Linked DNA regions of Homo sapiens: regions 2, 3, 4, 5, 6 and 7 are each linked to region 1. The links are contacts of gene promoters, found by promoter capture Hi-C in blood cells and fetal thymus (Javierre and others, 2016). All regions are on one chromosome and are shown on one strand. Each heading gives the region's core, a stretch centred on a gene start or on the middle of the fragment in contact. The rest is flanking DNA. Distances are from core to core; before and after follow the strand shown.

Evidence for each region. The method cuts DNA at HindIII sites, captures the fragments that hold promoters and counts their contacts. A CHiCAGO score of 5 or more calls a contact.
Region 2: a contact is called between a fragment that was not itself captured here and the fragment with the promoter of CAVIN1 in region 1, in 1 of 17 cell types (fetal thymus). The highest score is 5.2, in fetal thymus.
Region 3: a fragment that was not itself captured here is called in contact with the fragment with the promoter of CAVIN1 in region 1 in 1 of 17 cell types (activated CD4 T cells); the score reaches 5.9 in activated CD4 T cells.
Region 4: a contact is called between a fragment that was not itself captured here and the fragment with the promoter of CAVIN1 in region 1, in 2 of 17 cell types (fetal thymus and activated CD4 T cells). The highest score is 5.8, in fetal thymus.
Region 5: a fragment that was not itself captured here is called in contact with the fragment with the promoter of CAVIN1 in region 1 in 3 of 17 cell types (activated CD4 T cells, fetal thymus and naive B cells); the score reaches 8.3 in activated CD4 T cells.
Region 6: a contact is called between a fragment that was not itself captured here and the fragment with the promoter of CAVIN1 in region 1, in 1 of 17 cell types (activated CD4 T cells). The highest score is 8.0, in activated CD4 T cells.
Region 7: a contact is called between a fragment that was not itself captured here and the fragment with the promoter of CAVIN1 in region 1, in 1 of 17 cell types (activated CD4 T cells). The highest score is 5.2, in activated CD4 T cells.

What each region holds. Positions count from the first base shown.
Region 1 is chr17:42,420,992-42,424,934 of GRCh38, reverse strand. CAVIN1 (caveolae associated protein 1) reads left to right here and starts at 1,679. Exons shown (of 2, transcript NM_012232.6): 1 at 1,679-2,308. The coding sequence starts at 1,838. LOC102725238 (a long non-coding RNA gene) reads right to left here and starts at 1,747. Exons shown (of 4, transcript XR_007065758.1): 1 at 1,663-1,747; 2 at 1-44. The HindIII fragment of the contact is 2,664 bases long and covers 1,190-3,853 here.
Region 2 is chr17:41,969,664-41,973,606 of GRCh38, reverse strand. It overlaps CNP (2'',3''-cyclic nucleotide 3'' phosphodiesterase), which reads right to left. Exons shown (of 4, transcript NM_033133.5): 3 at 1,576-1,715; 4 at 1-132. Among named protein-coding and RNA genes, the nearest start is that of CNP, 4.8 kb to the right of the region's middle. RefSeq lists an enhancer at 315-434. The HindIII fragment of the contact is 2,098 bases long and covers 1,136-3,233 here.
Region 3 is chr17:41,985,976-41,989,918 of GRCh38, reverse strand. It overlaps DNAJC7 (DnaJ heat shock protein family (Hsp40) member C7), which reads left to right. Exons shown (of 14, transcript NM_003315.4): 7 at 362-515; 8 at 1,023-1,187; 9 at 2,009-2,100. Among named protein-coding and RNA genes, the nearest start is that of CNP, 21 kb to the right of the region's middle. RefSeq lists enhancers at 974-1,474, 1,475-1,975. The HindIII fragment of the contact is 461 bases long and covers 1,550-2,010 here.
Region 4 is chr17:42,012,959-42,016,901 of GRCh38, reverse strand. All of the region lies in intron 1 of DNAJC7 (DnaJ heat shock protein family (Hsp40) member C7), which reads left to right. Among named protein-coding and RNA genes, the nearest start is that of DNAJC7, 2.5 kb to the left of the region's middle. RefSeq lists an enhancer at 1-254. The HindIII fragment of the contact is 2,488 bases long and covers 699-3,186 here.
Region 5 is chr17:42,032,312-42,036,254 of GRCh38, reverse strand. It overlaps ZNF385C (zinc finger protein 385C), which reads left to right. Exons shown (of 9, transcript NM_001392013.1): 4 at 1,920-2,030. Among named protein-coding and RNA genes, the nearest start is that of NKIRAS2, 14 kb to the right of the region's middle. The HindIII fragment of the contact is 5,646 bases long and covers 1-3,943 here.
Region 6 is chr17:42,075,083-42,079,025 of GRCh38, reverse strand. The region is part of intron 1 of ZNF385C (zinc finger protein 385C); the gene reads left to right. Among named protein-coding and RNA genes, the nearest start is that of ZNF385C, 21 kb to the left of the region's middle. The HindIII fragment of the contact is 6,157 bases long and covers 1-3,943 here.
Region 7 is chr17:42,093,820-42,097,762 of GRCh38, reverse strand. The region is part of intron 1 of ZNF385C (zinc finger protein 385C); the gene reads left to right. Among named protein-coding and RNA genes, the nearest start is that of ZNF385C, 2.7 kb to the left of the region's middle. The HindIII fragment of the contact is 2,152 bases long and covers 797-2,948 here.

The DNA.
Region 1 (3,943 bases), core at 430-2,929:
ATGGACTCCTAGATCCTGCTCACTGAGATTGGTGTCAGCTGCCTCTGAGGGGGCGGTGGGAGGGGGAACACAGGGAAAGGTGAGTTTTAGAGAGAGGTGAGACGTGGGTTTGTGGGTTGCTTTTGTTTTTGTTTTTTTTGTTTTTTTGAGACAGAGTCTCACTCTGTCTGCACTCAGACAGTGGATTACCAACTGGCAGATTACCAACTTACTTTAGAATTTAGGAGAAATGTATTAAAGTAATTTAAATTCCTTCTACTAAGGATTGAAAAAGCTTTTGGAAAAAAGAGGAATTCTACTCTGTAGAATTCCACTCAGGCTGGAGTGCAATGGCGCGAATCTCAGCTCATTGCAACCTCTGCCCCCCGGGTTCAAGTGATTCTCCTGCCTCAGCCTCCCGAATAGCTGGGATTACAGGCATGCGCCACCACGCCTGGCTAATTTTGTATTTTTAGTAGAGATGGGGTTTCTCCATGTTGGTCAGGCTGAGGTCGAACTCCCGACCTCAGGTGATCCACCCACCTCCGCCTCCCAAAATGAGCCACTGCGCCTGGCCTAATTTTTGTATTTGTAACAGAGACGGGGTTTCACCATCTTGGGCCAGGCTGGTCTTGAACTCCTGACCTCGTGATCCACCCGCCTGGGCCTCCCAAAGTGCTGGGATTACAGGCATGAGCCACCGCGCCTGGCCTAAGAGAGGTGGGCTTTTAAAAAGGGCTTTACACCAGGCGCGGTGGCTCCCAGCACTTTGAGAGGCTGAAACCAGCAGATCACTTGAGCTCAGGAGTTCGAGACCAGCCTGGTCAAAATAGTGTACACCCCGTCTCTTAAAAAAATAAAAATTGAAAAAAATAAAAATTGAAATTAGCTGGGCGTGGTGGCAAGCGCCTATAGTCTCATCTACTCAGGAGGCTGAAGTGGGAGGATTGCCTGAGCCCAAGAGGTCGAGGCTGCAGTGAACTGTGATCAGACCGCTGCACTCCAGCCTGGGTGACAGAGTGACACCCTGTCTCAGAAAGGGGGGTTGGGAGGTGGGCTTTATTTTCCGTTTGATTGCCCATCTTAATTCTACTCTGTTAGGGCAATTCTAAAAAGAACTTAGAGGAGCTTCGCAGCCCTTCACCACCACCGTGACCCCAAATACGTTCTCTCTTTCTCCCCCCGCCCCCCACAAACAACCCCCTAAGCTTACCCCTGAGTTAGTAACCTGGTTGGGGTTGGTGATGAGGAAATCCGAGAGGCCTCTTAGAAAATATTGTAAAGGGCAAGGGTCCTTTTGTGCTCAAAATCTAGGTAAAGGCAAATACAAGATTTTGCCTATAATTTCAGAATCTCCTGGTCCACCCGGCTCCCAGATCTTGAGGATTTTCGGATGAGCAATTCAAGTGAGAGGGAAACAGAGAGCAACACTCTTAGAACCTGATTCCGTTCCTCAGCTCGCATTCCTCCGCCCGTCCCGCTCCCGCCGCCAGCGGAGGCCCTAGTCTCCCGCTCCAACTATTCCAACCATCCCGGGAAGGGTGGGGCGCTCGGCTCTTGGGTCCCCCTCCGCCGCCCCGCCTCGTCGATCTCCCCTTCTGCCCCGGTCCCTCCCTTTCTGGGGTGGGGCCAGCCAATCAGCGATCAGACTCCGGAGTTTGGCCCGGGAGCTGGGGAGCTCACCGATCCCCCGCCCAGCAGTTCTGGCCGCTGTCCCGGTGCGCACGGACGTGGCTCGAGTTTCCTCTGCTCTCCGCTCTCGCCCGCTAGCTCTCCTCCCTTCCGCTCCTGCTTCTCTCCGGGTCTCCCGCTCCAGCTCCAGCCCCACCCGGCCGGTCCCGCACGGCTCCGGGTAGCCATGGAGGACCCCACGCTCTATATTGTCGAGCGGCCGCTTCCCGGGTACCCCGACGCCGAGGCCCCGGAGCCTTCCTCCGCTGGGGCTCAGGCAGCGGAGGAGCCGTCGGGGGCCGGCTCAGAAGAGCTGATCAAGTCGGACCAGGTGAACGGCGTGCTGGTGCTGAGCCTCCTGGACAAAATCATCGGGGCCGTAGACCAGATCCAGCTGACTCAAGCACAGCTGGAGGAGCGGCAGGCGGAGATGGAGGGCGCAGTGCAGAGCATCCAGGGCGAGCTGAGCAAGCTGGGCAAGGCGCACGCCACCACGAGCAATACGGTGAGCAAGCTGCTGGAGAAGGTGCGCAAGGTCAGCGTCAACGTGAAGACCGTGCGCGGCAGCCTGGAGCGCCAGGCGGGGCAGATCAAGAAGCTGGAGGTCAACGAGGCCGAGCTGCTGCGGCGCCGCAACTTTAAAGTCATGATCTACCAGGTGAGCCCACAGGGCGGAAGGCGCCCAGAGCTCCCGCGCCCGGCCCGCGTCCCCTGCCTGGGAGTTGGGGTGGGGAGACCTGCCCGTGGCGCTGCTCCCCTCCCAGCCTGGCCCGGGCGCCCGGCAGATCCACCCTCCTTCCGGTGAGCGCGGCTGGGGTGGGGTTGGGTGGGGTAGGATGGGGTGGAGGGAGCGGCGGACTCCTGGGGCGCGTAGAGGGGCGCGCTCTGCACCTCGCACCTCCCCACTCAGATCCTTCCCTCGGGTCCCAAACTTGTAGCAGAACCGAATTAGCGGGTGGACTCGAGGACGCTGCCCCTCGCAGACCGCTCCCTCCCTAATTGGCTCTGTCAAACTTCTTCCTACTTGGGGGAAGTTTCTAGGAAAGTCAGGGGTCCCTCGCGATCGTTGGGGTCCGCTGTAAGCGGACACTGGCTGCGGGGCCCGGGCCTGGGGCCTCTGCGCCTGCGGGCCTGATATAGCGGGTGATTCAGGGCTCAGGCACGCACCAGCGGGGGCTGTGCCAAGCGGGGAACGCGACCGCCAACCTCCTCCCCAGACCCTGCGCCCCCGCGCCCCCACATCGGCCTCGGCGGCCCACCCCTGTCCCCTCGCTGCTCTCTGCTCCTGGCCACCAGGCATTTTCAGGCCCTTGAGGACACCCTCACCCGCGGCGCGCTGGCACCCTGGGCCTCCTGGAAGCGGGCGGGGCTGGGCGGGGAAGAGTGGGCGTCAGGAGTGCAAGAGGGGCTGGTGGAGTGGGTGGACAGCCCCTGCGGGGTCCGGCGGTCTGGGCGCAGTCTGGGCGAGGTGAATCACCCCGCATGCCTGCGGGGGCGGGGGCCAGGCGCAGCAGCGCAGCCGGCGGGAGGAGGCTGGCGCCCCCACCCCCCGGCTCCGCCCGGGGCCACTTGTTGCTTTCTTTGCAGCTCTCCCCATTCTTCACACTTGGATAAAAATGTAGCTTTTGGATCATAACCCCCAATAAACCTGGGAGTCTCGGGTTTCTATGCTGCTCCTCTCCACGCCGCTTCCGCAGTGCCATCGGGGATGAGATTTTGGGCTGGGCGGCAAGTGTTCCAGCCTGGCTCCTCCCCGCCTCCCAAAGGCCTGCTGATGCTCCTAACCCCAGGGAGGCGGGATCGTGTGGGGCAGGGGGGTTAGTCTATGCTCCCCTCTCCCCTTCCTCTCCCTGCTGAAGGGAATGGAAAGAAAGGGAAGGCTGGATTTCCCACACCCTCCAAGTTAGAAGACCCCTTTCCGGGAGTTGTGGCTCTGCTGACTGCTCTGGGGCCTGGTCGAGCCGGGTTCTGAGTGACCATCTGGGGTGAGGCGAGGGGGTCCTTGGCTTGGTTTCCCCAGGAGGAGTTAAGATAGATGCAAATCAGGACAAGTATCTGGGAAGAGTAGAGACAGAAAGGTGGGTCAGCTGGTACCTATCTGAGGTGGTGGGACAGAGGCAGAAGTGGCACTTGTCCCCCTCCCCACCCTTACCCACGGATGACAGACTCCTCCCAGGAGGCATATACGTGGCTTTTAAAAGCTTTACTTCCCCTACTTAAGCACTATTTAGATAGAAAATGTTTGCCCAGAGCTATTTCCACTTAGTCTAACTGCTTGGAGGACGCAGGATGA
Region 2 (3,943 bases), core at 935-3,434, 450 kb after region 1:
CTTGTCCACATCACTCGGCCACAACTGCAGTTGCTGCTCGCTTAACTCCACCCGGGCCCCAGTCGTCTTGGGTGTCACAAAGAGGGCAGAGATGGTCAGCGTGAAGGCCTTGGAGTAAGATTTCTTTAACACCTGGGGAGAGTGAGAAAGAGGGGCCCAAGCTAGAGATGGCAGGCTCTTGAGGAACAGCTGACCCAGGGAGGGTCCCTCCTGGAGGAGAGAAGGGGAAGTCTAACAGAAGTGAGCACAGCTGAGCAGGGGTCGGTATAGGCCCAGCATCCACTAACAACTGCGGCACGCACCTTCCATAGGCGCTCCAGGCTCAAGTGAGAAACACGAAGGCGCTCAGACAGGGCCACACGGGGACAGCCGGACTTCCTGAGGGAGCCCAGCTCCCTGCACACTGGCTTCCGGCCTCAGCGGGCTGGCTGACCTCTCGGTGCCTTGGCTTCATCACCCGTAAAACAGGGAGAACCAGAGCCTACCTCAGAGTTAATGTGGTTATGAGAGTGACTAGGTAAACAGCCCACAGGGGTGTCCGCGCACACAACAGCTGCTACTGTTGGCACCGCTCAGCTTCCCCTGGGACCCAGACAGCGCCCTGGAGGACAGGGTGAGGTCAGACTGAGGTCAGACTCGCCCTTGATGGAAACCTGCTCTTACACTTTGGTTCCCATCTGATGATATGTCTGCTTCTATCTGATTCTTTGAGACAGCCCATCCCATCTCAGCATAAACGCTTTTCTATTTTTGCTCACGATCCCTTGTCCCAACAGTGTCTGGCATGAAATGGGTAGTTAATAAATGCTAAATGAAGGCATGGTTAGGGATGGTAGCTCAGGTGTTACATATTCATTCCACTATGCTAGGGTGCTGGAACCACAGGAGTCAACGAAACTTAAAAACTCGCCCTCAGGGGAGCTTCCATTTGGGAGGACACTCTAGTGAACAAACAAACGATTGTGCTAACCTAGGCAGAGAAGTGGGAGAGTGGGCTTGGGGGTGGACACTTGGAAGTTGGAGACTGTGGATATGGGTGACATGCCTGGCATTCAGGGATCACTGTCAGTGGCTGTGGGTGTAAGGTGCCAGCTGTGTGGTGCAGAAAGGTCTCGTACCCATTAGCCAATAAGCTTCATTATCGTATGAAACTCCCTCACTCTGGGGCCAGGCCAGACCTCAGACCTGGGGACAGGGATGGGGACCTCAGTGCACCAGGCTCCCTGGGGGCGAAGGACTCCTAGTCTTTGGAAGGTAAAACAGGCTCAGAGAGACCAGAGCAGGAGCCCACTGTGGACCAGCATTCTCCATGAATCTGCAGAAGGCGAAGGTGCTTGGGGGCAGGTGAATGCACAGGCTGGCAGTACTGCCAGGGCAGGCTCCTTAGAACCTGCGGCTGAGGTCTATGCAGCTACGCCTGGGGACAGGGGAGCTAGGAGGAGGAGATGCCATTTTTCTTGAGCTGCCATCTGGTTTTTGGTCCCTGCCTGGCACCGGTACCTATCTTCAGAAGATGCTGCAGCCCCTTCTCCCCCAACCTCCCACCTCCCCCATGTGTCCCTGGGGAAGACTCACATCTTGTTGAGCGTACTCCTCTGCCCCGGGAGCCTTCCCGTAGTCACAAAACTTGGTTGTGCAATGCAGCACGCCTGGGGGTCTCTTTCCAAAGTAGGTGACCAAGTCCATCTTCTCCCTGGGCTCATCCCCAGGGACGACTGCCGGGAGAAAACGGGTGCAGTCAGGGCAGGGGAGCAGGGGCATACCAACATCCGCCACCAGGACCACCGAGGCCCAGCGCAAAACACTCGGACACTAAGCATCACCTCTCCAGCAACCCACTACAGCTCATTCATTGGTTAGTTGGTCAAACTAATGGCAACTTTAGAGCAATAAAAAGTTAAAATTCTCAGGCCAGGTGCGGTGGTTCACACCTGTAATCCCAGCACTCTGGGAGGCCGAGGTGGGTGGATCACAAGGTCAGGAATTCAAGACCAGCCTGGCCAAGATGGTGAAACCCCGTCTCTACTAAAAATACAAAGAAATTAGCCAGGCGTGGTGGCGGGCGCCTGTAATCCCAGCTACTTGGGAGGCTGAGGTAGAGAATTGCTTGAACCCAGGAGGCAGAGGATACAGCGAGCCGAGATAGTGCCACTGCACTCCAGCCTAGGCAACAGAGCAAGACTCCGTCTCCAAAAAAAAAAAAAAAAAAGTTAAAATTCTCTGGCTTTACATTGTATAGATCTTTCCATCTCTTCTCCAAACTCTAAGGCATTTGTAACAGAGGCAGGCAGTACAGGCCAAGGGAATCTAAGATTTACTAGCACCACGTCTCAAAGGGGAAGCAAGTCATGGGAAGTGGGGTGGAAAGAAAACAGAGGGCTGGGAACAACATGGTACGGTGGAAACAGCCAGAACACAGTGAATATCTCAGCTCTGCCATGTACCAGCCATCGGCCTCGGGCAAGTGACCAACCCTATCTATCAATCCAGCACAACAGTTAGGGTGACCATATACCCCAGTGTTCCCAGGACCACCAGGGAACTATCAGTAGTGCCCCATTTCACTCAGGGGCCCATCTGGACAAGCAGTCACAACGTCACCATCAGTTTAATACACACCTTGCAGGCCTATGGGGGGGCCTCCTGGTACAGGAAGGGTCTTGGACTATAATGGGGTGACATTATGGGGCTGGAAGACACAAAGAGGAGTGGAGTATCTGTGATTTTGATTTCCAGACTCCACACCTGTGGCTGTCTTTGGAGTCACTCGCTTTTTCCTGTTATGTTCTGAATTGAGTCCCCATGAGGATGTCTCGCCCTCCACAGGGGAGGAAGGCCTCTCCTGAGAGCAGCCTTGCTGGCCCATTACATTTCTCCTGCTCTAATCCTGGGCAGAAAAATCCAGTTTTCCTTTACAAATAAAATAGGCTGGGCATAGTGGCTCGCACCTGTAATCCCGGCAATTTGGGAAATTGAGGCGGGGCGTTTGAGACCAGCCTGGCCAACATGGTGAAACCCTGTCTCTACTAAAAATTTATAAATTAGCCAGGTATGGTGGCGGGTGCCTGTAATCCCAGCTACTTGGGTGGCTGAGGCAGGAGAATTGCTTGAACCCGGGAGATGGAGGTTGCAGTAAGCCGAATTGCCCCACTGCACTCCAGCCTGGGCGACAGAGCAAGACCCCCGTCTCAAAAAAAAAAAAAAAAAAGATCTGGCAATCATCCTGTCAAGCTTGATTCGTCCCATCTTGGGCCAAGGGCCCCTCCTTTCTTTTGTGCTACCGACCAGCCTGGTCAAGATGGTGAAACCCTGTCTCTACTAAAAATACAAAAATAAAAAAAAATTAGCCGGGCATGGTGGCAGGCGCCTGTATTCCCAGCTACTTGGGAAGCTGAGGCAGAGAATTGGCTTGAACCCAGGAGGCGGAGGTTGCAGTGAGCCGAGATCATGCCACTGCACTCCAGCCTGGGCAACAGAGCAAGACTCCGTCTCATAAATAAATATTAAAAGCAACTTTGAGCAGTAGTCACTCCAGGGCAGAGCCACCAGCTCACAGGTACAGGGCTTGCTCCTGGCCAATGTCACTGCAAGCACCACAGTTCACTGCAGAGTTCAAGTTTAGGAGCTGAGAAAAAAGCTCTCTGAGAACCCATACAGGCACAAATTCCCTGCTTCTGTGCAATATACACAATGTCAACAAACCAGAGTGGGGCTATTTCAGGCATGAAGATCATCTAAAATTGGGGGTGGCTGGGTGCGGTGGTGGCTCACGCCTGTAATCCCAGCACTTTGGGAGGCCAAGGCAAGCGGATCACCTGAGGTCAGGAGTTCAATACCAGCCTGGCCAACATTGTGAAACTCCGTCTCTACTAAAAATACAAAAATTAGCTGGACGTGGTGGTGCACACCTGTAGTCCTAGCTACTCGAGAGGCTGAGGCAGGA
Region 3 (3,943 bases), core at 531-3,030, 440 kb after region 1:
AACTCAACTCTGCCATTGCAGTGCAAAGGTTGCCCTAGATAATAGATGAACCAATGGGTGTGGCTGTTTGAATAGTGTTTTATTTACAAAAACCAGTGGCAGAAAGGATTTGGCCCTGTGGGCTGTAGTTTGCCAAACCCTGTTCTAGTTTAATAAGGATTGTAAGACACAAGATGTGTATTAAAGATAATTATAGGTGGTTTATTTGGGGAAAGTTTGGGAACAGTTCTTGGGAATCTGTCTACCTTTGGATATTTTGAATGCTAGACACATGGTCAAGGAGGAAAACTGGCCACAAATGGTAGTAATGGTGGGGACATTCTAAAGCACAGCTCAATGTGCCCTTTTCTGACTATTGCAGTGACATTCTACGAATGGATTCCACCAATGCAGATGCTCTGTATGTACGAGGTCTTTGCCTTTATTACGAAGATTGTATTGAGAAGGCAGTTCAGTTTTTCGTACAGGCTCTCAGGATGGCTCCTGACCACGAGAAGGCCTGCATTGCCTGCAGAGTAAGTTCTAGTCACCAGACCTAACTGGGAAAGAGCTTCCTTTTGGGACCTTTAAGATGGCTAGAGTGGAAGGTTTTAGAATCACAAGGAATGTGATAGCTTTTCCTCCTGCTTTGCAAGGATGCTTGGTCTTTATTAGAAATGGTTTCAGGACTACTTGTATTTACCTAAAGGTAGATGTGATCATATAGGGTCGGATGCCTTTAATATCTAAGAGGGTTTTTTTGTTTTGTTTTTCCCCTCAGTGAAGATAGATAGTAATACTTGTCCTGAGAAGTGAAGGCAGACCCAGTAACATAGGTCTCATTGGTATTTTTGGTAACTCTTTTCCTGTCCACTCTGTAGGAAGCTCAAATGAGCAACAGATAGCCCAGATTGGGGGTTGGCGGGGCTCTGTGATGCTGAACTGCTGGAAGCAAAGAACTTGAAAATAGAGTCTGGCCTCTCTGTGCAATGGTCTGAGGCTTTGTGGATATGAACCGATCCTCCCCTTGCTTTTTTCTGTAGAATGCCAAAGCACTCAAAGCAAAGAAAGAAGATGGGAATAAAGCATTTAAGGAAGGAAATTACAAACTAGCATATGAACTGTACACAGAAGCCCTGGGGATAGACCCCAACAATATAAAAACAAATGCTAAACTCTACTGTAATCGGGGTACGGTTAATTCCAAGGTAAGCTCTTGATCTAGATCTTGGGGCCTATAGAAATATTTTTAAGGGACATCAAAGGGTCTTGGGAAATCTGCCTAGTGAGGGTAAGCAAGATGAAAGAGGGAAAGTTGTTATGGTTAATAGTTTGTTAGGAACTCCCTTCCAAGAGGCAAGCTTTTGTCATCTCTATGGAATTTGAGGGCAGTTGGACAATTTGCAAGGATATTCTCACCTGTTCATTAAGGTCCCTTTCCTCCAGTAAGAGAATGGCTAGGGTCTGTGGGATAATCTTAAGCACCTACTGTTGCTTTTTTGTTGTTTTGCTTATGCAAGTGATCATTTATTTTTTAGGAGTGATTTGGAGGAAGAGTATGAGGCAAGCTTGTTTTTCTCCAGTGTAATTGATGGTCACCATGCATGGTTGAAAATGGCCTGAGTGCTTTTGTGGCCCTACCCAACATCAGAAACAAAAAGTAGACTCCTTGCCCTTGCAGAATTCTAGCAGTTAAAAATCAGAGTGATTTCTGATCCCTGCAGGTGACCTCTGGAAAAAAGGAGGGCAGGAACCAGCCTTACTATTTTCATGTTTTCATTGGGCACTAACATGGAATGGTAAAGGTAGTTTATCCTTGAAGACAGATGTGCCTGGCTTGTATCATATACAAGAGAAATCAATTTTGAAGTTGCTGTCCATAGCCCTGGTGACAAAGAACTAGAACTTAATATGACATTTAAGGGGCCAGCATGACTGATCCTCTTAGAGTTTTGAAGCCATGCTCACAGCTTCTGGGCTCCCTCAGTCACCAAAGGTGTGAAGTATGATTGCTCTCTCTCTCCTGAAGCTTAGGAAACTAGATGATGCAATAGAAGACTGCACAAATGCAGTGAAGCTTGATGACACTTACATAAAAGCCTACTTGAGAAGAGCTCAGTGGTAAGTGCCTCTGATGGGTAGGGGGAAGAGGGAGTTGCCGCTGGCCTCAGGGGAATTGCCTTGTGGATGACGAAGCAGACCCAGAGATGTTGTGAGGTCATTTGGTCCTTCCCCCTGCCTCTAGGTGGGATTGTTCCAGCCCTAGACTATCTTTATAGACCTCCAGCGGAGGAGATTGCACAAGCTCCCTCAGTCTCCCATGCCTGTGTCTAACGCCCCTCACGGTCAGTAAGTTTCCTCTGATGCCTGACCCAAATTCCTTTTGTTAAAAAGTTTAAATCCATTTCCTTTGGAGATTTTATTTTGTGTTGTACACTTATGCTCTACCCTGGCACAGTGCTTGACACATAGGTGCTCACTGAATAAATGTTTTGTTGAATGAATGTATGGTGCTTGGAAGAGAAAACAACTCTTGGAGACAGTTGAGAGTTGTACTTCATCCTGTTTGTTCTGGGCGAGGGAAGACAATCTTAGAGTTGGAAGAGATGTAATCCGGCTCAGCCTCCCAGGATAAAGGAACTTCCTTTTGAAACACCCTGGATGGCTACTCTCTGCTTGAGTGTTTTGAGTGGAGGGCACTCTGTGTCTGACAGGGTGATTATGAGCCAGGATGTGCCTACCTCTAATGCTCACATTTGCCCCAGAGTCAGGGTGCTCCCTGGCATGGTTGCTCCTCTTACTCTTAGACCCACCAGCTGGTTTTCTCCAGATAGGAACAGGGCTAGGAGAAATCTTTCTCAGAAATCCATCTCTTCTGATTTCAGATTATTCTCTAGGCGGAGAAAAACTTCCCGTCTTTAAAGTTCTTAGAGAAGATGTATTTATTGTATACTAATCCTCCAGCACCTGCTCCACTCCTTATTATAAAATGTCATATCCAAAGAACAGATGCTGTCACTGATGCCTGATGAGCCAGTAGTTTAAGCTTCCTTGTCTCATCAGTGGTACAGAATATCTCATGGACTACCTCCCACTTAGTTTTCTCAAAATTATCTCACTTAAAATAGGAAAACTGCTGCTGTGTGTGATGCTTTTTTTAAAAGTGAATTTCTAAGTTGATGACTAAGTCTGTCCAACAGAAACATACAGGGAATTATAACTTCTGTGAGACTGACTGTCAGTCATTCCATCTTTGCAAACCACTGGCACACAGAAGCAGAAGCTTTGGAAGACAAAAAAAGCACCCTTTGATTCAGCCAAAGACTGACTTTAACAGACGCAAAATGCTATATACATGAAGGTGTTTGCTGCAATTTTATCTATAATAGCAAAAAAAAAAAAAAAAAAAGGCGGGGGGAGAATCACCTACATGTCCAGTGGGAAGGGGGTGGCTAGATACTTGATACTGTATGAACTTAATGGAATGCTCTGTATATGGAATGCCAGGGGATGGGAAGAGAAGAGAAAAATCGCTTTGTTTTATTTTTTGGGATGGAGTCTCGCTATGTCGCTCGGGATGGAGTCTCGCTATGTCGCTCAGGCTGGAGTGCAGTAGCACCGTACTGGCTCACTGCAACCTCCACCTCCTGAGTTCAAGCGAATTTCCTGCTTCAGCCTCCGAAGTAGCTGAGATTACCGGCGCATGTCACCACACCCAGCAAATTTTTGTATTTTTATTGGAGATGGGGTTTCATCATGTTGGCCAGGCTGTTCTCAAACTCCTGATGACAAGTGATCTGCCTGTCTTGGCCTCCCAAAGTTCTGGAATTACCAGCAGGTGTGAGCCACCGCGCCCGGCCTTTTTTTTTTTTTTTTTTTTTTTTTTTTTTTTAAGCAAGCCCCCAACACCATAGAAAATTCTTGATTTGCTCGGAGGATAATTGGATGAAGGATTATTTTCTTC
Region 4 (3,943 bases), core at 693-3,192, 410 kb after region 1:
CTTGTAATTATACCCCAGCGATCACTAGTCTGGGTTCGAAGTGATTGTGTGTCTCCATAATTGACCTGGTTGCCCCCGGTTATCCCAGAAGTCAAAGATGACAGAGAAAAAAAGGAAGAGCGAGGGGCTTATCTCGTGTTCTCTACGTCAGACTCCTCTTCCCCTGTCCTTCCTGGGTGATCTTTATCCTTCCCAGCACTGTTCTTTCTTAAGTTAAGCACCAAGGAAGAGGGCAACTGCTTGGGCGCTGTTGGCACTCCGAAGCAGCCGCAGTGGTTCGAGATTGCCAGTCGGACTAGCCAAGGGAGCTGCTGAGTGAGTGGTTTTCGAGAACGCTCTAGATTCTGGCAACAGTTAGGCCAGATTATTGGAAGTGGGGTTGGAACAGAGTTGTGGGTAGTCATACTTGTTCTAATCCTAAAGCAGAATTGACAAGAAGGTTCTAGAAGTTTGGAGCCCTTTCCTTATCAGCTGCGGGTTAGTCTGACCCTTTTGTTCAAGATATCTACAGTGCCCTCAGTCTCTTTGCAACATACTTTATATCTTCATACCAAGCCCGTTGTGTCTTCAGGCTGGGTAATTTGAGGCGGTGATGTAGAATTAGTTCATGAGATCTGAAATCAGGATTCTGAGATTTTTACTATCTAATGAGTTCGAAATATAAGAAGTACTCGGACGCAATGAATAGTTATCAAGCTTGAGGGTGGTTACCACAGCCAGATCTCAAGTTCCTGATCTGCTGGGAGCTGAGGGGCCTGACAAAGTGTAATAGGCCCCTGGGATATCAGAGAAGCCAGGACACCAGAGTCCAGTCTCTGTTCTTAATTTTGAGCTTTCATGTTGTTCCTACTTCTTCCTAGATATTTAAAGCTAAGCATCATCAACCCTTATACATCATTAAAGAGCTGCACAATGGGAAACAAAATTCCTCCCAGTGCAGACGGAGCTTAAATTAATTGTAGAGATTTACTTGTATTTGGAAAGAGTTCAGTGGTTCTTTATACTGTAAATAGGGATTTGGCCACAGGTTATTTATTTTTTATTTTTTGAGACGGAATCTCGCTCTGTCGCCCAGGCTGGAGTGTAGTGGCGCGACCTCAGCTCACTGCAAGCTCCGCCTCCTGAGTTCACACCATTCTCCTGCCTCAGCCTCACCAGTTGCTGGGACTACACGTGCCCACCACCACATCCGGCTAATTGTTGTTTTTTTTTTGTATTTTTAGTAGAGATGGGGTTTCACCCTGTTAGCCACGATGGTCTCGATCTCCTGACCTCGTGATCCGCCCACCTCGGCCTCCCAAAGTGCTGGGATTACAGGCGTGAGCTACTGTGCCGGGCTGGCCATAGGTAATTTTAAAAACTCACCCTACTCATTGTAAATCTCTGATGTAGAGTGTCCCTATTTTGGACTTCATTTCATAGCCTCCTATCTTAAGCAAATACATTTCTTCAATCACAGCCTTAGAGGATAGTCTATCATAAAATTGGAGTAAATGAACCTGAAGACATATAATAAAATAGGTTATGCTGTAATGTGACCACATCACACAAAACATGGTATTTGATAGCAGTACAACAAAATAAGGTAAACTACCTTATTTCATGGAATTTAAGTGTCATTAGGCTGGGTGCAGTAGCTCACACCTGTAATCCCAGCACTTTGGGAGGCCGAGGCAGGTGGGTCAGCTGAGGTCGGGAGTTTGAAACCAGCATGGCCAACATGGCAGAACCCTGTCTCTACTAAAAATACAAAAATTAGCGGGGCGTGGTGGCACACACATGTAATCCCAGTTACACGGGAGGCTGAGGCAGGAGAATCGCTTGAACTCAGGAGGTGGAGGTTGCAGTGAGCTGAGATCGGGCCATTGCACTCCAGCCTGGGTGACAAAGTGAGATTCCATCTCAAAAAAAAGTCATTGATTGCAGAATGCAAATTATTTTATCTGTCACTAAGAAAATGTAACTGTAAATTAAACATGACAACATGCATTATTCCTGTAGTTCAAATAGTGACAGAAAAAAATTAATTAAAAAAAGAAAAAAGACTGGGCGTGGTGGCTCACACCTGTAATCCCAGCACTTTGGGAGGCCAAGGCGGGTGGATTACCTGAGGTCAGGAGTTCGAAACCAGCCTGACTAATACGGTGAAACCCCATCTACTAAAAATACAAAAATTAGCCAGGTGGGGTGATGCTGTAATCCCAGCTAGTCAGGAGGCTGAGGCAGAGGTTGTGGTGAGGGGAGATCATGCCATTGCACTCCAGCCTGGGCAACAAGAGCAAAACTCCGTCTCAAAAAAAAAAAAATCAATTAAAAAAAGAAAAAAATGCATTCTTATCAGACTTTTATGTTTCTCATATATAGCACTGTTTTCGACAGACTTAAACATAGTTATTTATTATATACCACTTTTTTGCACAAATCAAAAGGAAAATTGGCTGGGTGCAGTGGCTCACACTTGTAATCCCATCATTTTGGGAGGCTGAGGTGGGCGGATCACGAGGTCAGGAGTTTGAGACCAGCCTGGCCAACATGGTGAAACCCCATCTCTACTAAAAATAGAAAAAATAGCTGGGCGTAGTGGTGGGCACCTGTAATCCCAGCTACTCGGGAGTCTGAGGCAGGAGAGTCGCTTGAACCCGGGAGGCGGAGGTTGCAGTGAGCCAAGGTCACACCATTGCACTCCAGCCTGGGCGACATGGTGAGACTCCATTTCAAAAAAAAAAAAGGAAAATAAGTGAAATAAACAAAAAAATCAGTTTAACTTTTTGCCATATCAGACATCCTTAGAAGAATAAACATTGGCCGGGCGCGGTGGCTTATGCCTATAATCCCAGCACTTTGGGAGGCTAAAGCAGGCTGATCACCTGAGGTCGGGAGTTTGAGACCAGCCTGACCAACATGGAGAAACCCCATCTCTACTAAAAATAGAAAAAAAAAATTAGCCAGGCATGGCGGTGCATGCCTGTAGCCCCACCGACTTGGAGGCTGAGGCAGGAGAATCACTTGAATCCGGTAGGCGGAGGTTGCGGTGAGCCGAGATCGTGCCATTGCACTCCAACCTGGGCGACAAGAGTGAAACTCTGTCTCAAAAAAAAGAATAAACATTAGGCTCTGTTAGTATGAAAAAGCCTTGTTTATGTATGATTTTTCCAGTGCTGAAAATGGGATGGAGATTTAGAAGCTTTGGAGGGAGGTGGTTTTATGTTTTTCATGTGTCCTGGATTCCTCTTGTGTGGCCATAGCAGAGGGCAGTGATAGGGGCATCCCTTACAAATGCCCTTTTACTGTCTGGCTTGGTTAGAGTTCTTTGGCCAAGTTCCTGCCTCTGTTGTTATGGTCCTCCTACCAGTTCATTTAGGGATCAAGAGTTAATGAGTCTCTCGGGTCGTTTTTGTGAGGTCCAGCTTTGTAAGGAGTCCTTCCTTCCTTACGTCTTGGCTTAAGACATGTCCTGCTGCTGCTAAGTTGTCACAGTCCCATAGGGGGGCAAAATGAGAGGAGCTTTTAAGACGGACTTCACGATTGCAGCATTTTAAATGGCTACATGTTTTATTTCCTTAGCTTTAGTGTTTCTGTAGAGAAAAGAGATGGATTTCAATTTTTTTGCATGTCACTCTGACAAAGTTCTGTTTCCCTTACAGCAGCCAAGAAACTAAAATAAGGCTAGGCTTAGTGGCTCATGCCTGTAATCTTAGCACTTTGTGAGGCCAAAATGAGAGGATCGCTTAAGCCCAGTAGTTTGAGACCAGCCTGGGCAACATAGTGAGACTTAGTCTCTATAAAAACATTTAAGGCTGGGTGCGGTGGCTCACGCCTGTAATTCCAGCACCTTGGGAGGCTGAGGCCAGTGGATTGCTTGAGGCCAGGAGTTCGAGACCAACCTGGGCAACGTGGTGAAACCCGCCCCCCATCTCTGTAAAAAAAAAATACAAAAATTAGC
Region 5 (3,943 bases), core at 768-3,267, 390 kb after region 1:
GGCTGAGGTGGGCTGATCATCTGAGGTCAGGAGTTTGAGACTAGCCTGGCCAACAGAGATGGTGAAACCCCATCTCTACTAAAAATACAAAAATTAGCCGAGCATGGTAGTGGGCACCTGTAGTCCCAGCTACTTGGGAGGCTGAGGCAGGAGAATCGCTTGAGCCCAGGAAGCGGAGGTTGCAAGATTTTGGCTCCGCCATTGCACTCCAGCCTGGGCGACAAGAGGGAGACTCCATCTCAAAAAAATAATAAGGAAAAGAAAAAAAATCCAAATTAATATTCCAAAGAAACGATCCTACTCCTTGGGGAACCTTAGGCCTCCACTTGCTGCTCCCTGCCCCCTACTGGCCCCCCACCTCCCCTGGCTGTGGCTCTCACTCTCTCAAGAGAGGTCGTCATGGCTGGGCACGGTGGCTCACACCTGTAATTCCAGCACATTGGGAGGCCAAGGCAGGCGGATCATTTTGAGGGCAGGAGTTCGAGACCAGCCTGGCCAACATGGTGAAACCCTGTCTCTACTAAAAATAACAAAAATTAGCCAGACGTAGTGGTGGGCGCCTGTAATCCCAGCTACTCGGGAGGCTGAGGCAGCAGAATCACTTGAACCTGAGAGGTGGAAGTTGCAGTGAGCTGAGATCATGCCACTGCACTCCAGCCTGGGCGACAGAGCAGTATTCCATCTTATAAAAAAAAAAAAAAAAAAAAAAAAAGGTCGTCAGCAGCCTCAGGCCCTGTGACAGTGATAGAGCTGATGAGATAGGACTTATCTTCCCCCAGCCCACAGGTCCCTGCATGAAGCCTGGGTGATGGGAGAGGAAATTCCAACAGACGAGTTCTTTGTCTCTTCCCTGCCTCTCCTTGTTTCCAACTCTCTGTCCCAATAGTTGTAATTATTGCAAAGGAGAAAAACAAAAAACAAAAATAATGACCTAAGGGGCACCAAGAGATGCCAAGGTGATCACCAGGACATGGTTCTATGTCCCAGAAACATGCAGGGCACTCTGGCCATTCCCCTGCTTCCAAGCAGAAGCCTAGGCTGACAAATAAAGACAGCCGGGAGAGGCTGTGTATTTTTCTTTTCTTTTCTTTTCCTTTCTTTTCTTTTCTCTTCTCTTTTTTTTTTTTTTTTTTTTTGAGACAGAGTCTCACTCTGTTGCCCAGGCTGGAGTGCAGTGGCGCAATCTCAGCTCACTGCAACCTCTGCCTCTGAGGTTCAAGCCTCCTGCCTCAGCCTCCTGAGTAGCTGAGACTACAGGCACGTGCCACCACACCTGGCTAATTTTTGTATTTTTAGTAGAGAAGGAGTTTCTCTTGGCCAGGCTGGTCTTGAACTCCTGACCTCAGGTGATTCACCCATCTTGGCCTCCCAAAGTGATGGGATTACAGGCGTGAGCCACTGCACCCAGGCAGCTGTTTCTTCTTCTTTCTTTCCTTTTCTTTTTCTTTTTCTTTTCTTTTTTTTTTTTTTGAGACGAAGTTTCGCTCTTGTTGCCCAGGCTGGAGTGTAATGGCCTGCTCTCGGTTCACCGCAACCTCCATCTCCCTGGTTCAAGCAATTCTCCTGCCTCAGCCTCCCGAGTAGCTGAGATTACAGGCATGCGCCATCACACCTGGCTAATTTTGTATTTTTTTTTTAGTAGAGATGGGGTTTCTCCATGTTGGTCAGGCTGGTCTTGAACTCCCAACCTGAGGTGATCTGCCTGCCTCGGCCTCCCAAAGTGCTGGGATTACAGGTGTGAGCCACCGCGCCTGGCCCAGCTGTTTCTCTTTCCAACATCCACAGGATGGAAAAGTTCTTCCTAGAAGCTGACCAAGGCCCTCTTCAGTCATCTTTAGTTTTGGGCATTTTGTGCTGCCCCCGACCCCTGCTTCCCAAGCCAACCCCAGAGTTATTATGCCCTCCCACTCCCTTCACAGATGGACCCGGTCCAGAAAGCTGTCATCAGCCACACGTTTGGTGTCCCCTCCCCTCTGAAGAAGAAGCTGTTCATTTCCTGTAACATCTGTCACCTGAGGTTCAACTCAGCGGTGAGACAAAGTAGTGAAAGCAGGTCTGGGGAGGGGGCTGGGCAGGGAGAGGGCTGGAGGCTGGGCTTTCAGAGTCCTTCTGGGAGGAATATCAGTGGCAAAGGGGCTGTGGTCGGTATTTTCCACCCTGGCTGCAGAAGAGGCACTCTTGGTCCTTTAACCATCGCATCCTCTCCTCTCTCTAGATTCTTCTGCCCCTTCCCCTTCTGCCCAGCTGTAGCCCAGTGGGATTCCATTTCCTTCCCCCCAGGCCTCTCTCCTGTGTTCTGGATCCTTCTGCAAGAGAGAAGACTGCCCTTCCTCCACTCCAGGTCCCAGTGGCCCATCTCATCAGCTCCTGGTCTGGAGCTGAGCTCTTAAGGCACCTGAGAGTTTACAGAATGTGATCATGCCCATCCCCTTAAATAATAGTTTTCATGATACATCTGTGAGACGGGTGGAGGCGGGATTTTTTTGTTTTGTTTTGTTTTTTTAGACAAGGTCTCACTCTGTCACCCAGGCGGGAGTGCAGTGGCGCAATCTTGGCTCACTGCAGCCTCCACCTCCAGGGTTCAAGTGATTCTTGTGCCTCAGCTTCCCTAGTAGCTGGGATTACAGGCATGTGCTACCACGCCTGGCTAATTTTTTTATATTTTTGGCAGATACAGGGTTTCACCATGTTGCCCAAGCTGGTCTCGAACTCCTGGGCTCAAGTGATCCACCCACCTCAACCTCCCAACATGCTGGGATTACAGGTGTGAGCCACCGCGCCTGGCCTAGAGGCGCTATTATAATCCCCGATTTTCAGATGAGGAAAGTGAGCCTTAGAGAGGTTAAGTGACTTGCCTAAGACCACACAGCTGGTAAGTAGCAAAGCTGGGATATGAATCCAGGCCTGGCTGACCCCAAGGTCTATGACTTTCTACTACAGCCTACCCCTTTCTACTACATCTTACCACTAGGTAGAGGAGGAACCTCATTCTGGCCTCCCAGGGAAGGTCTACCTCCTGTTAGGCAATCTGGGGTTTCGGTTGGATGCCAGCAGAACTGCTGTGGTATAGCATCCAGGGAGGGGCCATGGGGGCCTGTCTTTCCCATGTTTCAAGGAGGTGGGCCGGGGAGCAGCAAGTGAGGACCCTTGGAGGGAGGACACTGACAGACCAGATTTGAGGATTCCCTTCAGGCCTTCTGGTTCCATGAGTCCTGCAAGAGATGGAGGAGAGGCTGGGCGTGGTGGCTCATGCCTGTAATCCCAGCACTTTGGGAGGCCAAGGTGGGTGGATCACTTGAGGTCAGGAGTTAGAGACCAGCCTGGCCAACATGGTGAAACCCCATCTCTACTAAAATACAGAAGAAAAAAAAAAAAGCAGCCAGTTGTGGTGACAGGTGCCTGTAATCCCAGCTACTCGGGAGGCTGAGGCAGGAGAATCGCTTGAACCCAGGAGGCAGAGGTTACAGTGAGCCTAGATTGCTCCCGTTGCACTCCAGCCTGGGTGACAAAGCGAGATTCCGTCTCAAAAAAAAAAAAAGATGGAGGAGAGAATTCGTTCTGAGGGAGGAACCATTCTTCTTCCTGCCGGACCCCGGGCACAGTGCCTGGCAAATAGCAAATGCTCAGTAATGACTTGTTGAACAAATGAACAAAGGGATGAATGTTCTGGGGTACATACACCCCAAAGTGTGGGGATTGCTCTGCTTTCTCCATTTGTGCATTGATACACTTGATAACTAACATTCATTGAGCACCTACTCTATGTACTCGGCCCTTGTAATTCATGTTCCCATGTAATTCTGACAACCCCATGAGGTCAGTATTATCATCACAGGGTTTATGGGTGAGGAGACTCAGGCTCAGAGAGATGTTACTTGCCTAAAGATGTAGTTAGTGGCCAGGCGTGGTGGCTCACGCCTGTAATCCCAGCACTTTGGGAGGC
Region 6 (3,943 bases), core at 459-2,958, 350 kb after region 1:
TCAGCCTTGAGTCAGAGGAGTTATTATTAGGCATTGTTGTTACCATTATCTCCATTTTACAGACAGGAAACTAAGATGTGAAGAGAAGGGACAAGTTCCCAGTCACACGATTAGTGGCGAAGTTGCAACGTAAACACATTTGCCTGACTTCAAGTTACTCCAGTTCCCCGCAGTCCCTCCAAATTACACCCGCAGACACACATGCTCACCTCTCTCCCCCACCTCCTCCCCCTTCCATCTTACCACAACCCTGAGGCCACCCCCAGGGAGATCATCCTGTCCATGCCCCTGCCTCTGCCCCAGTGCAGTGGAGCCTCCACGTGGCCTGTATCTGGAGCTCATCTGGTCATGGTCCAGGAGAAGGTGACAGTGGGAAAGTCGGGGGAGTCAAGGGTGTCAGCTGCTGCTGCTTCTTTTTGAGCAAAGACTTTGAAAGTTTAATGTGATAATCTCATCCTGATTACTGCAAACTGAGGTCCTTGGGCTTGTCCAAGAATCCATTACCAACCTCACATGAGGAGCAGGGAGGTTGCACTGGGTTCCCCGCCTCCCTGCTCCCCCAGTCCCCCATGCATACTGGGAAGGATCTGAGTGTTGGTTGAATTTTTTTTTTTTTCTTAATGGAAAGAAGGTGTTTCTGGATCATGGTAGAGATTCTAGGCTTCCTACCTCAGGACCTGGACCAGGAGACCCCAGCCCTTTCCTTTTACATCTGGGAATTTAATATCCTAAAAAGTGCGACTGGTTAGTAGGTTGTGAGGCCAGTCAGAAGGCGTAGAAAATCAGCCCAGCCAGGGATCCCTGGCCCTTGCATCCCCCCACCCCAATACACCGCCAGGGAAACTGAGGCCTGTTACTGTTGTCTCCACATCATCTCTGCCCAGAAGCAAACCAATTAGCACTGTGTCTGGTTCTGTGTTCCCAGTGCCTGTCTCATTATTTGGGGATTTATGTCCCGGTCACTGTGAAGGACAACTGTCCCGGTTTCCACTGGGGGAGCCTGGCTGGCGCTGGAGCCCAGCAGTGGCAGGAGGTGGTGCCGTCCTCCTTGGGGCAGGATGGGGATTTGATTTCAGGGGGATTTGCAACCAGTGGGGAGCCGCCCTGGGCACATGGTGGCTCTGGGCTATTTTAGGAGGCAAAATGTGGGGGGAGGGGTCACAGTGGACTTGTTCAAGCCACTAGAGAGTCTGCCCTTTCAGTGGGGGCAGAAAGAACCCATGATGGGTGGGGTGGGACAGGCCTACCCACTGTTGGGGCCTCTCCCACCCTCCTAGAGCCCAGGAGTCCAGAATGACGCCACCCGTCCTAGCCCCAGTCTGGGCTGTGGGCCGAGCAGGGAAGCTGCTGGCTGGGCCGGGGTCTCTGCTCCTTGCCTGAGTCCCTTTGTTACAGGCTTTGCTTCAGCTGGGGCCCTTAGTGTTATTATTATGAACAATTCTTTTAACCACCTCTTATCTTTGTAGTAGAAATGTTACTTATTGAACATTTGGGAAAGGCCCCAGGAGCAAGAAAAAGGGCACAGCCTTAAATCCAGGCCCATCAGCTGCTGTTCGGTATGGGCCTCTTCCAAGCTGTGTAATGTTGAGGGTTGCATAAGTTCCTTCACCTCTCTGAGCCTCAATGTCCCTCTCTCTAAAGCCGGGACCAGCAACACCTAATTAATAATGCCCCTACTATTAGTTGGGCACATATTATATGGGGTACTTTGCAGGCATGATGTCACACCATCCTCTACACCGTTACCTGTTAATTGCCCTGTTTTAGAGATAAGGAAACTGAAGCTCAGAGAGGGGAAGTAACTTGCCTAAACTCACACAGTCAGAGCAAGGTGCCTGATCCATTTCTCTTTGCACCTACAGTGAGAGTTGGTTCATTCCTCAAATCCAGCAATATGTCTTTGTTACTTTCTGTGTGTCAGGCACTGTTCTAGGGCTGAAGAGTCATCCACAGACAAAACAGAGGAAGAGGAGACAGTGGATAAGACTGGCCAGTAGTGAGAGCTGGAATAGTCAAACTGGAGACTCAGAGGCTTTATTTAGACTAAGCGTCATTTTCTGGAGTGGGGAGGGCAATATTTAAGGGGCCTGAATCCCTCACTGGGCAAGTGGAAGGTGGACCAGGAAGGGCTAGCACCACCTCACACCCCCAGCTCTCCATTACCAGGAAGAGCTTTTTCATTTGTTCTTCCTCTTCACCCCACCTTTGTAGGAAAAAAGTTACTGGGCATATTGGGATAAGGCCTTTAGAAGCACCATGGTATAAAGGAAAGAGACACCCTATGCTTTGGAGTCATCCAATGGGGTCCAAATCCCCACTCTGCCCCTTTCTAGCTGTGTGACCTTGGGCAGGTAAGTTAACTTCTCAGAGCCTCCCCTTCTTTGTTTTTTTTGTGTGTTTGTTTGAGACAGAGTCTCATTTTATCGCCCAGGCTGGAGTGCAGTGGCGCGATCTTGGCTCACTGCCAGCTCCGCCCCCCGGGTTCACACCATTCTCCTGCCTCAGCCTCCTGAGTAGCTGGGACTACAGGCACCCGCCACCACGCCCAGCTAATTTTTTTGTATTTTTAGTAGAGATGGGGTTTCACCGTGTTAGCCAGGATGGTCTCGATCTCCTGACCTCGTGATCCACCCGCCTCGGCCTCCCAAAGTGCTGGGATTACAGGCGTGAGCCACCGCGCCCGGCCAGAGCCTCCCCCTCTTTATCTTCAAAATCTGGAGAGTAGTAGCAAACTTTCAGGGTTAGTAGGGGATGAAATGAGTGGGAAAGGGCATGGGAAGGATCTGGCACACAGAAGGCCCACAATAGACGGCAGTGTTTTGCCTGCGTGCAGAGTTGGAGTTTAGGGGTGTGTTATTCCTAGGTATCTAGGTGAAGCCACGTCTTTGTGGGTGGCACTAAGCTGGCACCTGTGGTCCTGCTGAATGATTTCAATAGGCTAAGCAGAATGGGAGAGCCAGCAAGCCCAAACATACGGTCTGGGCCTCCCAGCGCAGGAAACTACCATTCACTCGGGGGCTGGGATAGGGAGGCTGAACTCACCAGTGCATCACGTGAAAATAGACCTGGGGGTTTCAAGGACGCTCAGCTCTATGTAAAGCTAGTTCAAGGCTGAAGAAAAACTGAGGGATGGGCAGCATTCACAGAGGAGGGCAGAGATGGGGGGAGGTTGTGCTGTCCCTTTTTCTGTTCTATGGAGGATACCAAAAGCCTAAAAGAGTTTAGAGGAATGTGCTAGGCACAGTGGCTCACGCCTGTAATCCCAGCACTTTGAGAGGCCAAGGCAGGTGGATCATGAGGTCAGGAGATCGAGACCATCCTGGCTAACACGGTGAAACCCTGTCTCTACTAAAAATACAAAAAATGAGCTGGGCGTGGTGGTGGGCGCCTGTAGTCCCAGCTACTGGGGAGGCTGAGGCAGGAGAATGGTGTGAACCCGGGAGGCGGAGCTTGCAGTGAGCCGAGATCGCGCCACTGCACTCCAGCCTGGGCGACAGAGCAAGACTCCATCAGAAAAAAAAAAAAAAAAAAAAGGAGTATAAAGGAATGTAACTGGGATAATCCAACACTTGGAAACCATTTATTCAACACATTTTTAATTAAGTGGTTTAGATCAGGTCAGTTGGTCACCATGCAAGGTACCAGGCAAAAGAAATGAATGAAGGCCCAGAACTACCCTGGGGGAGGAGCGCTCAGTATAGTTGGGTAACCAAAGCAGGGTTTGGGAGAGACAGTTTAATTAATACAGTGTGATAAGGGCAGTGTTAGGGTCTCATACAAGGTGCCCTGGGAGCACATACAAGGGGGAGGCACATCTTCAAAGGCTTCCTGGAGGAGGTGACCATGTCAGGGGAAGAATAGCTGAGGCAAATGGGTCTCTTTAGCTGGGAGAAGAGCCCCTTTAGGAAGAAACTGCCTGCTGTGTTTCTCTGGCTGTGGAAGG
Region 7 (3,943 bases), core at 623-3,122, 330 kb after region 1:
TGCAGACAGGGGAGCATTTGCACCCTCAGTGTTGGGATTTGGGCTGTAGGAAAGGGGTCCTGCCTCCCAGGACCTCGAGGAAGCCTTCCTGGAGGAGGAGGACCTGGGCTGACAGCTTGAATGTGATGCTCAGAGCTCTGAGCCACTAAGGAGAGGCAGCCTTTGGGTCTTGGTGCTGGGTTGAAGTAGAGCAGAGGACCCTGGATTATAGAACAAAGGGAAGTCAGGACATTGCTGTCTGGGTCCAGCTGGGACCCCAGGGACCTTCCTGAGATCATCGCAAGCCTTTGGACAGACACGGGTGACAATGGGGGGAGGGGGGCTTCCTTGTCTGTCTAGATTCCCCATTCCATTGCCTCATTTCACCACACAAACCATCAGAGGCAGAAGTTCGTTCTCATATCCGACCTTCATCCCTTCTGGGTCTGTGCCAGCTTCTTGCTTCTGGGAGGCCATGTGCTCTAGTGGAAAGAGTGGGGGCTTTGGGGTCAGTTAGAGCTGAGTTCTGACACCTCTACCTACTGCGTGACCTTGAACAAGTTTCTTAACCTCTTTGAGTTCACTTAATCACCTGTAAAATGGGGATAATAATAGAACCCACCTCATAGAGTGGCTGCAAGGGTTAAATGAGGGTACACATGTAGAGCGCTTAGCACAGTGCCTGGAGCCTGGCGAGGGCTCAGAAAGTACCAGTGTCCCCTCATGTGTGGGACAGCAAAGCCGATCTGCAGGGAGTGAGAGCGAGCAGGGGAGGGGGGAGTGGAAGGGTTTTTTTTTTTTTTTTTTTAGCTAAGCTTGGCTAGAAAGAGTGCCCTTCACTGCATGCCCCCCTACCAGGGGGAACCTGCCCCCTGCTGGTTCCTGGATCTCTGGACCTCTCTGGGCTGCCCAGGGCCCCTCACCTCCTCCTCTTTTAGTCACCTTGTTTGTGTTGCCTTTTGTCTCTGTAGAGGGGAGAGAGTCCCCCCGCCCCCGCCCAAGGCAGGGACCAGTACCAGCAGGAGCTCACTTGGGCTGTGCCTCAGTGGAACAAGCTCTGGCTTGGAGACCCAACCTGAAAAAAATGCCCTCTTGTCATCACTGCTCTGCCCTCCCACCTCCAGGAGTTGGGATCAAGCCGCACTAAATTTTTCCAGGAAGATAAATAATACGAGTGACTGAAAGTCCTGTTTGGGGATTGTCCAAGCTGTCCTCCAGTGAAAGGACAGCTTCAGGCCCTGGCCTGATCTCTAGGCTGCCAGGGAAGGCTGAGTTCAGTAGCACCCTTAAACCTGGGCAAGGGAGGGAGTGCCCATGCCCTAAGCTGGGGGCTTTCAAAGGCTCCACTCTGGCCCTCCTGCTGCCAGTCCTCTCCCTGTGGGATGAGGCATCAGCAGGGCCGAGGGGATGAGACTGTGAGTCCCCTCCAAGACCACATTCTCCATACCTGTGACTCTGGAGGTCCCTGCCTAGATGGTCACCATCTGGCTCCCAGCCCATGCCAGCCTCTTCCCTGGGCCTGTCTGCCTCAGGACAGGTTATGCCAATAGTGTGTGCACCCCTACGGACAGTGAAGGGACAGCTATTTGCAGGGGCTGTGGATGGAGCAAGGACATGAGGCTGGGTGTCCTTATACATGCACAAGAGTCCCTTGTGGTGCAGACAGGACCCGGCAGCAGGAAGGGGGGTGGCCAGGGTGCGAGTGGAGCTGTCTCCTCTGCACAGAGTCATTCTGATGTGTAAAGCTCAGGAGGCAGATAAATCCAAATTTGTATCTGGTCCTCCAGGTTGTTAATGAAGGTGTATTTGTCAGGGTGAGAGGTTAGAACATATTTCACAGTTTGCTGGCTTGATTTATAACTTTTAAATATTTAGACATATGTCTGTGGGCCGCCATTTGTCCCCTTGCCCCAGGCCCTGTGAGTGTTCCAGGTGGGCCTGGCTGGGCCTGTGACTTCAGCTGCCATTTGGTTAATTCCTTCCCCACTCTCCCTGTCCCCCAGTAGAGTAGCACCCCTATAAAACTGGGCTTAGAACATGCTTACCTGGACCAGGACGGAGTTTCAAGGTGAAATGAAGATTGTCAGTTGTCATCAACAAGCAGTTCCCCTGTGGGCCTCCTGACCTCATTATCCACCACAAAACTGGGACAATTTTTTTTTTAATGTCCTGTGATGCTTGAGAGGGAAGGGCTGGGGAGGAGAGGTTACTTCTCTCCTGTGTGTGGTGAGGGTGTGGGTCACTGGACCCCAGGAGCAAGGAGAGAGCTAAATGGGGCCGCAGCAGCAGGAGGGATGGAAGCTAGCCTGGGGGAAAGCCAGGGTTGGACCCCACCATCCCTCTGGCTGCCCTTCTCAGAGGGAGCTGCGCCTGCCACCCGGGAGGGCCCATGTGTCTATCATGTGGGTTCTCCCATGAGTTTGGAGTTTGGGCTTGGGACAGGGGAGACTGTGGGGTCAGCTGGCCAGGCGGCGGGGGTCATCCCCAGCGGGAATGAATGGTACGCTGGTGTTGACTGTAGTCAAGTGCCCTGTGGCACCTGGACACACCGTCTGTTCAGAAGAGGCATGAAACCTTTATTGTGGCTGTCTCTGCTCACTCATTGTTTCTGATTGGGCTATTTGAGGAACAGCCTGCCACGTTGGCCTCATTAGCATCGTGAGGCTCTTAATGGAACTGGATCCACACACGTGTACAGACACTCACAAACTCACTCAGGTACGCATGCCCGCCTGCACTAACCCCCAGAGGTCTGTGTATAGGGTTGTGCGCTCCTAAACCCCACCCCAGGTCAGACCCACCCTGACACACATGGCTTGTGACACCCATACCTTCACCCCAGTCACACTCTCACTGTCCCTTATTGGTGACTTTTCATTCACCTTGGGTGACCCACTGGCTCCAGTGGCCAAGGGCTGGCTTACTAGAGGGTGGCTGGGGGCCAGATGCCGGCAGCGGTTGGTTAAGCTTTTGGGACAGGAGGCAGCAGCATTGCCCTGGTGAGGCCACCCCCAGTGGGGCTCGACCCCCAAGCACTTTGGCTCCCCCCACGTCTCCCAGGAGAGTGTCTCTGGGTCCTGAGGCTGTCTGTCCTTGTGTAGTTCTCGTGAGCCTCTTTCTGCTTCGGCCTGTGAGTGTGTCTGGCCCTGCGCCTCCTGTGTGCTCCCCATCTGTGTCCTTTCCCCTCTCCTGACCCTGTCCTTTGTTATCTCTGTCTCTCCTCTCCACCCGTCTAGCTCTTTTTTCTGTGAGTCTTTCTATGTCTTTTCTTCTTCCTTTTTCTCTGCCTCCTCTGTCTACCCCTTCTCTCTCTGTCCCTCTCTCTCACACTCCCACTCTCAGTGTCTGACTGCGTGGCTATCTCTCTGGGTGGGTCTTTCTGTATCTTCACCTCTCTCTATATCTGCCTGTCAGTCTGGACATGTATCCCTCTGACTCTCTGCCTTAGTCTCTTGAGGAGTCTCGGCAAAAGGAGAGCCAAGAGTCCTGAAAGAAGGTGACAGCCAGGCACGGTGGCTCACGCCTGTAATACTAGCACTTTGGGAGGCTGAGGCGGGTGGATCACCTGAGGTCAGAAGTTCGAAACCAGCCTGGCCAACATGGTGAACCCCCGTCTCTACTAAAAATACAAAATTAGCTGGGCGCGGTGGCGCATGCCTGTAATCTCAGCTACTTGGGAGATTGAGGTGGGAGAATCGTTTGTACCTGGGAGGCAGAGGTTGCAGAAAGCCAAGATTGCGCCATTGCACTCCAGCCTGGGCAACAAATGTGAAACTCCATCTCAAAAAAAAAAAAAAAAGGTGATAATGCCTCCCAGGGGGCCACGATCACTTCTGGGCTCCTCCACTGCCAGGCAAGGCGGCAGGAAAGGGAATATCACGTCCTAGGGAGAGTGGATGGGCCGAGTGCAGTGGCTCACACCTGTAATCCCAGCACTTTGGGAGGCCAAGGTGGGTGGATTGCT